Linked DNA regions of Homo sapiens: all the other regions are linked to region 3. The links are contacts of gene promoters, found by promoter capture Hi-C in human tissues and cell types (Jung and others, 2019). All regions are on one chromosome and are shown on one strand. Each heading gives the region's core, a stretch centred on a gene start or on the middle of the fragment in contact. The rest is flanking DNA. Distances are from core to core; before and after follow the strand shown. Region 1 has its middle 46 kb from the start of SVIL-AS1. Region 2 has its middle 86 kb from the start of LYZL1. Region 3 holds the start of LYZL1 (lysozyme like 1).

The links. The method cuts DNA at HindIII sites, captures the fragments that hold promoters and counts their contacts. A contact is called where the count stands out against the background at its distance.
Region 1: a contact is called between a fragment that was not itself captured here and the fragment with the promoter of LYZL1 in region 3, in 2 of the 25 tissues and cell types used here (mesenchymal stem cells and thymus).
Region 2: a fragment that was not itself captured here is called in contact with the fragment with the promoter of LYZL1 in region 3 in 4 of the 25 tissues and cell types used here (H1 embryonic stem cells, bladder, mesenchymal stem cells and 1 more).

Annotation. Positions count from the first base shown.
Region 1 is chr10:29,362,031-29,364,730 of GRCh38, reverse strand. No RefSeq gene overlaps it. Among named protein-coding and RNA genes, the nearest start is that of SVIL-AS1, 46 kb to the left of the region's middle. The HindIII fragment of the contact is 4,134 bases long and covers 1-2,700 here.
Region 2 is chr10:29,201,350-29,204,075 of GRCh38, reverse strand. No RefSeq gene overlaps it. Among named protein-coding and RNA genes, the nearest start is that of LYZL1, 86 kb to the left of the region's middle. The HindIII fragment of the contact is 4,604 bases long and covers 1-2,726 here.
Region 3 is chr10:29,287,724-29,290,423 of GRCh38, reverse strand. LYZL1 (lysozyme like 1) reads right to left here and starts at 1,354. Exons shown (of 5, transcript NM_032517.6): 1 at 1,194-1,354. The HindIII fragment of the contact is 13,518 bases long and covers 1-2,700 here.

The DNA of each region.
Region 1 (2,700 bases), core at 24-2,523, 74 kb before region 3:
TTAAAGCATCAACCTGCTCTTTAACAAAAATTATAAAAGGTTAAAAAGAGTCTATAAAATCTTACCTTATGGTCAAATATAAAAAATTGGATAAATATGTCTACAAGGTTTTATTAAAATTAAGTTTAATATTAATAACACACTAATATAATGGTAAAATTTAGCTTATCTGGTATAAAAATCATACAAGAAACATTATTAAATATAAAATGGTGTTTAGCTTTCTTTGGTCTAAAAACTAATAAAAATTGGTACAAAAGAAAACATTCATTTTACTAGAGGATCATAAAAGTTAAAGACTTAAAACAAACTTTGGCAATTAAGACAGCATACCAAGATGCAAATGCCTAGTTGAAATGGATCAAATATTCCATCTGCACATTAAACAAAAGCAATTGTTATGCTTGTGCACATGGCAGGCCAGAGGCCCTTATTGTCCCCCTTCCACTAAGGTGGTCCTCCAGTCCACCAGGCGTGGGCTGCATAGTAGCTCTTTTGCAGGATTCTACAGCCTGGAGTAACAAGTCATGCCAAGCTCTCTCTGCTATATCCCGAAGTCTGGCACCCTGCGGGTCAGCCCCCGAGGGCCGTCCAGCTTCCGTCTCCCAACACTAAGTTCACTTCGTGTCTCTCACGGTAGGGAGGAGACTTAGATTCCTTGGAGACCTGAAGGGATGCAGTGAGCTTAAGAATTTTCAAGAGCTTATCAGTCAGCCCTTGTTCATCCCCGAGTGGATGTGTGGTGGTATTGTGGTGGACCTTTACTGGGCACTCTGCTGAATAACTAGAGTGGCACTTGTGCTTTAGTCCATTTGGCTATCCCTTTCACCCTGGCATTTCATCAATCAGAGGAAGGAAAAAAATAATAAAAATAATAAGACATAGTAAAGCGAGAGAAGCCCCTTATGGGTCTTTCAACTCTCACATCTATTTAGATGCAATTGAAGCCCCGCAAGGAATACCAGATCAATTTAAAGCTTAAAATCAAATAGTTAGAAGATTTAAGTCAATATTTTGGTAGATGACAGTCAATAAAAATGTAGATTAGATAAACTACATCTATTACAACCAACAGCAACAAGCTTTTCATGAGTTTAAAAAAAAAAAACAAACTCATGTCGGCCCCAGCCCTGAGGCTACCTGACCTGACAAAACTCTTTACACTCTATGTGTCAGAAAGAAAACAAATGGCAGTTAGAGTTAACCTAGACTGCAGGGCCCTGGCCAAGGCCAGTGGCCTATCTCTCAAAACAACTAGACAGGGTTTCCAAAGGCTGGCCCCCATGTCCAAGGGCCCTGGCAGCAATGGCCCTGTTAGCACAAGAAGCAAATAAGCTAACTCTTAGGCAAAACCTAAACATAAAGTCTCCCCATGCTGTGGTGATTTTAATAAATACCAAAGGACATCATTAGCTAATAAATGCTAGACTAACTAGATACCAAAGCTTGCTCTGTGAAAATCCCCGCATAACCATTAAAGTTTGCAACACCCTAACCCCGCCACCTTACTCCTGGTATCAGAGAGCTCAGTTAAACATAACTGTGTAAAAGTATTGGACTCAGTTTATTCTAGTGGGCCCAACCACCGAGACCATCAGTAGACTGGGAGCTGCACGTGGATAGGAGCAGCTTCGCCAACCCCTGCAAAGTGACTCTGAAGAAGACGACAAGCCCTGCTCCAGTCACACCTGGAAGCTAACTGGTCCACACACGGCCGAAACATGAGGAAACTCATCACAGGACTCATTTTCCTTAAAATTTGGACTTGTATAGTAAGGACTTCAACTGACCTTCCTCAGACTGAGAACTGTTTCCAGTATATTCATCAAGTCACTGAGGTAGGACAAAAGATTGCTACAGTCCTATTATTTTATGGTTATTATAAGTGTACCAGGACTCTAAAAGAAACTTGTTTGTATAATGCTATCCTACCAAGGTATGTAGCCCAGGAAATAACCAACCTGATGCATGTTATGACCCATTTTAAGCATCCCATAATCACAGTTTTTAAAATGAAATTAAGGAGTGGTCCTTTTCTAGGTGACACAAGTAAGGTAATAGCTAGAACATAAAAAAAGAGGGGTCCCCAAAAATGTAACCTTAAAATTTGATGCTTGTGCTGCTACTGATAGTAAGCAGCATGGGAGAGGATGCAGTTCTCTAGATTAGAAAAAAAAAGGTACACCATAAAAAAATAAGTATATCTGTCAAAAATCATATTTATGTGAGATGTGTCAATACTGGTCTTGTGTCATTTGGACTACTTAAAAGGAAAATAAAAAAGATCCTGTTTGACTCCAAAAAGGAAAAGTCAGCCCCTCCTGCATGAATGGGAGCTGCAACCTTTTAGAATTGATCATCACAAACCCCTCAGACCCAAAGTAAAATAAAAGAAAAATATGTATCATTAGACATTGATGGAAAGGGACTAGATCCTAGGGTGTAAGCATCCTAATAAAAGGAGACGTTCAAAAACGTTCTCCAGAACAAGTATTTCAGACTTTCTATGAGGAACTAAATGTGCCAGTACCTGAAATTCCAGGAAAAACTAAAAATTTGTTTTTGCAATTAGCCGAACATGTAACCCAATCTCTGCAAGTCACCTCATTTTATGTTTGTGGAGAAACCATTAACAGGAAATCAATGGCCATGGGAAGCCCAAGAATTAGTTCCTACAGACCCAGTTCCTGATAAATTCCC
Region 2 (2,726 bases), core at 171-2,670, 86 kb after region 3:
CAGAGAAAAGCGAAGAGCCCCGGTTCTAGCCCAGGCGGGGCCCTCACCCTGGACTCGGGCCTGGTGTGACTGGAGTGGGAGAGGCTCATCTGCTAAGGGCACTGGGGACCTGGAGACTCCACCTTCAGTGTTCCTTGTCACTGATCGTGATTTTACTTGGGCAGGTTGTAGCTTAAGCTTCAGCTCCTTCACCTAGAAAGTGAGAGTGTTGGCCTTGAACCCTAGGTGATCTCAGTGACAACTCCAACTCTTCAGGTCCATTTACTCATTCATTAGTTTATTTGTTTAATCGGTAGTCACTGGGCTTAGGCCTATTAAATGAAGAGATTGGATTAGATATTTCCCTAGGCACCATTATTCTAGTTATTTCCTTCCTTCCTTTTTCCCTCCCTCCCTCCTTTCCTTCCTCCCTCCTTTCCTTCCTTCTTTTCCTTCCTTCCTTTTTTCTTTCCTTTCCTCCTTTTCCCTTCCTTCTTTTTTCCTTCCTTTCTTTTTTTTCTCTCCCTTTCTTTCTTTCTCTCTCCCTTTCTCTCTCTCTCTTTCTCTCTCCCTTTCTCTTTCTTCCTCGCTCTCTTTCTTTCTCTCTCCTTTTCTCTCTTTCTTTCTCTCTCATTCTCTTTTTCCCTCTCTCTTTCTTTCGAGACAGGGTCTTGCTTTGTTGCCCAGGCCAGAGTGCAATGGCACAATCATACCTCACTGCAGCCTTGAATTCTTGGGCTGAAGTGATCCTTCCACCTCAGCCTCCCAAACTGATGGAATTAGAAGCATGTGTCATCACACCAGCTAATTTTTTTTTTTTTTTTTTTTCAGAAAAGAATCTCATGTTGACTAGGCTGGTTTCAAACTTCTGGCCTCAAGCTATCCCCCTGCCTCAGCCTCCCAAAGTGCTGGGATTATGTGAGCCACTGTGCTCAGCCTAATTATTTTTTTTCTAGGTATCGAACAATCCCTTTTCCCACCTACAAATTCCTGGGCAGACAGCTGAATGCTGAATTTCAAAACTAGTTGCCCTTTTGAGTTAAACTGTTTCTTAAAAAAAAAAATTGTTTACGAGGAGGAGGGTACCTCACAAAGTACCCTCTACCTCAGTGGGCATTAGCTTATAACTTTAGTTCTGATGATAATGAAATTCTGAACAACTGTGCAAATCTAATGGGGGCAAAGAAGACAATGGAGAATGAGAGAACAGGAAAGCGTGGGCTCAGGAGGGATCCTGACTGTGTGCGAGTACTGGATGCTGGGAAAGAGAATTATTAGGACAGGCAGGACGTTGTGCAGGGCCTCGGATCCTGGGCAAAGTATAAGGCGTGGAAGCTCCATACTAATCTGAGAGTGTCTACGGCCAATCGCACTGACTTGGCAAAACAACTGAGGCCATTTTCCTGCATTTATTTCTGAATCAGAGAGTAATGTCATTTGCAAAGACTCATGGGCCTCATTTCTAGACAGGAAAAATCCCCCTTATTATCTTCTTAAATTATTTCCTGTAGGTTCCCCTCAAGTAAAACCACTAAGCTCCCGCTGATCCGGTTCCCACTGACACATGGGAGTGGTGCCCTCAGTAAAGGAAACTCAAGCCCCTAGAACTTGGCACAAAGTGATATGTGTTTCAGTTCAGGCTGGTTACACAGAAAATGAAGGCATTTTCCCTCCAAATCCTGAAAGGAAGGGGATATAGCGAGCTCATGGGGCCCTCTGCATCCCTCGAGGGGAGGTTGTTTACCTGCCCTTCTGGGCTTCGTGATGGAGTAAGGCTCGGTAGCTGAGCCGGACTCTCTCCATTCTCAAACTGCTTCAGGGCCATTGATGTGCATCCAGCCTGTTAGCTTTCTGGGATTAATAACATCTTAACATCTACTGTTGCCATAAGTTTGTAATTTGCGCTTTCAAAGACATTGATCTCATATGCATCTCATGTGCATTTCCTGTTTATTCCCTGTACATCTCATGTTCATCTCCTGGGCATGTACAGGAAAGGGACAGGGAGCAACAGCACAATTTGATGGCTGAGGAAACTAAGGCTCAGAGAGGCAGTGAAGTGACACCATAGGTTCACAAGGCTGGAAACAACAGGGACAGCTAAGGGGGAGGCTCAGGATGGCTGACCTCTGCAGAGGTTTTCATGGACCCCTGGGCCTTGTTAAACCATAAGTCCTTCAAGGGCCCCCCCGAGCTCCACGTGAGTCACAGGGCTCCTTCTGTGGAGGGTGGCTCCCCACTTGCACGTCATTTCTCAGATGCCAGAACAAAGCATCTTCTCACCAGAGCCCAGAATTCTAAGCTCCATTTGCCTTACGTGCCCAAGATTGTCCTGGAAAAGCTTACAGAACTCTAGGGAAAGAAGAGGCAGAGAGATGCTGTTAGGAGAAAAAGCAAGAGTGTCAAACACTGGACAGGGAAAAGTGGGGGAAATTCAGGGACGGCTGTCTGGAAGGGCCCCTAAGTAGTCCCAGAGTTTAGCAGGATGTGGTCCTGCCTCCTATCCCCAGTCCACACTCACCTTCCCCCCTTTCATAAAGCTCAGCACCATCAAATCAACACAGTGCATCTTCAGGGCATGTGCATAAATTGGGGAGCTCAGAGACCATCAGACGGAAGACCCAGGAAACAGTCTGAACCCATTAGTGCTAGAAAGCCAACACCATAACACCTTTCTACACAGATCCTGCAGAGAGAGCTTGCTCTTCCTTGGCTGCTCGGGCGAGCTGGGTGGGTTTGAAGTGGTG
Region 3 (2,700 bases), core at 105-2,604:
GGAGGAAAGCACCTGGGGGAGCAGAGGGGCAATAAAGAGACCCCTGCGGAATCATCTGAAATGGGAGTAGGATCAAGAGAGCTGTCTCCTGCTGCCTACTGATTTTCCACAATCTCTTCCCCTCTTGAAATAATGTCTTCCCCAAATACAACAGCCTTGCTGGGATGGGGTGAAGTGAAATTTCTGACAACTACTCGGGATCCTGAACTTGATGTTCTTACATATGTTCATCCCGTGTCATTTTCTGCACTTGCCTAGAAACTTCTCCAGTCATTAGTTTCTCTCCCTGGGGCTGGATTCCTGCATTGAAAGGCTAGGCCCAAAACAGGGATAAGTAGTCATCAGCAAGGCCACCGCACCAAGTAACAAGCAGGGCTTTAAGGTGACTAAGCAATAAGGTAAGGAACTGCATTGCATGAGGGGCATGTACATTACAAACGTGAATAGCAAGCGTGGGCAAACCAGGCCCGCTTTTGTATGTAAAGTTTTATTGAAACATAGCTACACCCATTTGGTAATATATCATTGGTGGCTGATTTCCAACTACAGTGGCAGAGTTCAGTAATTGTGTTTGAGGCCGTATAGACCACAAAGCCTAACATATTATTATCTGGCCCTTTTCAGAGAGAGCATGCCAGTCCGCTGTGTACAGCACTGTGTTAAGCTGTGAGGGACAGACAAACGAGGTTTAAGATGCAGAGCTAAGGCCAGGCATGGTGGGTGATACCTGTAATCCAAGCACTTTGGGAGGCTGAGGTGAGCAGATTGCTTGAAGCCAGGAGTTTGAGACTAGCCTGGGCAGCAAAGGTAGACCCTGCCTCTACAAAATATACAAAAATTAGCCAGGCATGGTGGTGTGTGCCTGTGGTCCCAGCTACTGGGGAGGCTGAGGTGGGAGGATCACTTGAGGCTGGGAGTTTGAGGCCATAGTGAGCCATGATTGTGACACTGCACTCCAGCCTGGGCAGCAGAGTGAGAGACCCTGTCTAAAAAAAAAAAAAAAAAAGAAAAGAAAAAAGAAAAAAAGATACAGAGCTTACAAATAGAGTTGGTTTCCATCCCCTGCCTTAGAATTTTACTGATCTCAAACAAGTCCAAAGAAAACCCGCAGCAATGATAACCCCAAGCATCATGTTCTACATCCTTCAAGAACCTGCCATTGCTGGTTCTCATAAGAGTAATTTAGGTCTTACTGAAAAGGCAGATTCCTGGTGCCTGCCCCAGAGGCTGACTTCTCAGTTGAGTCTGCGGAAGAAACACTGCTCCACTTAGTCGGTGACAGGCAGCTCAGGGGAGCGTCCTGCATCCCCTGAAGCCATGTCTGATTCTAACGAGGCGCGAGTAATCCTTTCCTAGCTCAAGAACATTTCTTTAGAGTGTTAGAGAAAGAAAAATTCTTAATCCTTTGTTTCTCACCACCTAGAGATGCTAGAATTCTACTTCTTGGCACTAAAAGCTGTATCATCCTGCATGCTTGTGTTCTGAGGCAGGTGATAACTGTCTTCTGGGGCTTAATACCTCTTGTTTTTTGTCTTTTCCCCTCAACAACCCTCCTCATTACACAACTTGGCCAGGGCCTCCTGTCCAAGTGAGAGCTCTTCTCTGAGGCGTCTGCAAACTTTATCACAAATTCCATTAATAAAGAAAGTTAAGCATGTATCCTCTTTAGATGTACATTGAGTTATAAATCATACTTCTGTACCTCAGTACTAATATGCTACATAAATTATCAACATACATAAAACTAAAATTTGAAAATTAATGACATAGAGGTGAAATTAACATTAAAAATTTATTAACAGCACATTTGCTATAGTCAAATTATTATTAATAAAATATTTTTGTAATAACATGATTTTATTATTTTTGAAAAATTTGGCTTAACACTTTGTGAATCAATAACTAAAGGGCTGTTTTCAAGGTCTATTTATTTCAATGTTCAGATTTAGTGACACATTTGAAATGAATTCTCATTAGAATATGTAGATCTAAGTAGAAGTTTATTGTTGGCTGCACCTAACTAATCGTTATATTTTCTTAAATTCCATCTGCCAATAATGCAAAGGTTTTGTTGAAATCTATTTTGAAGTTCATATAGTATTGCATTATACAGATACAACATAGCATACTTAGCCAATTTCATATTGATGCACACTTATTTTATTCTTCTATTGTAAACATATTACAACCAGTAATTTTGTACATATGTCATTTGTAACTTTACAAGAATATCTTGCTGGATCAAAGGGTATAATTTTGTAATTTTGCTAGATATTTGCCAAATTGCCTTTCACATGGGCTTGTATCAGGAAGATAGCACACTGTGTTATCAAATGTTTCAATATTTCTCAATATTAGAGATGAAACATAATTTTTCAGCAGAGTTTCAATTTCAACTTTCGTTATTTCAAGCTGCTTGAGGGTCTTTTTTATCTTTAGAAGCCATTAGTGGACTTCTTGTGAACAGTCTATAATATGAGAAAATGTATAGGTTTTTCCCTCAAACATCTTTTTCAAAATGCTTTGAAATAGGGATCTTACCAGTGAGAAAATAGAGACGGATTGTCTTTTTCTTTTTCAAAAATGCTTGCTTAGCAAGTTTTCAGATATGACGTAAATATACAAAAGCCATTTACAATCTTATATACTAGGAATAGAAAATAAGAGTTTGAAATAAAAAAAAATCCATTTACAATAGTA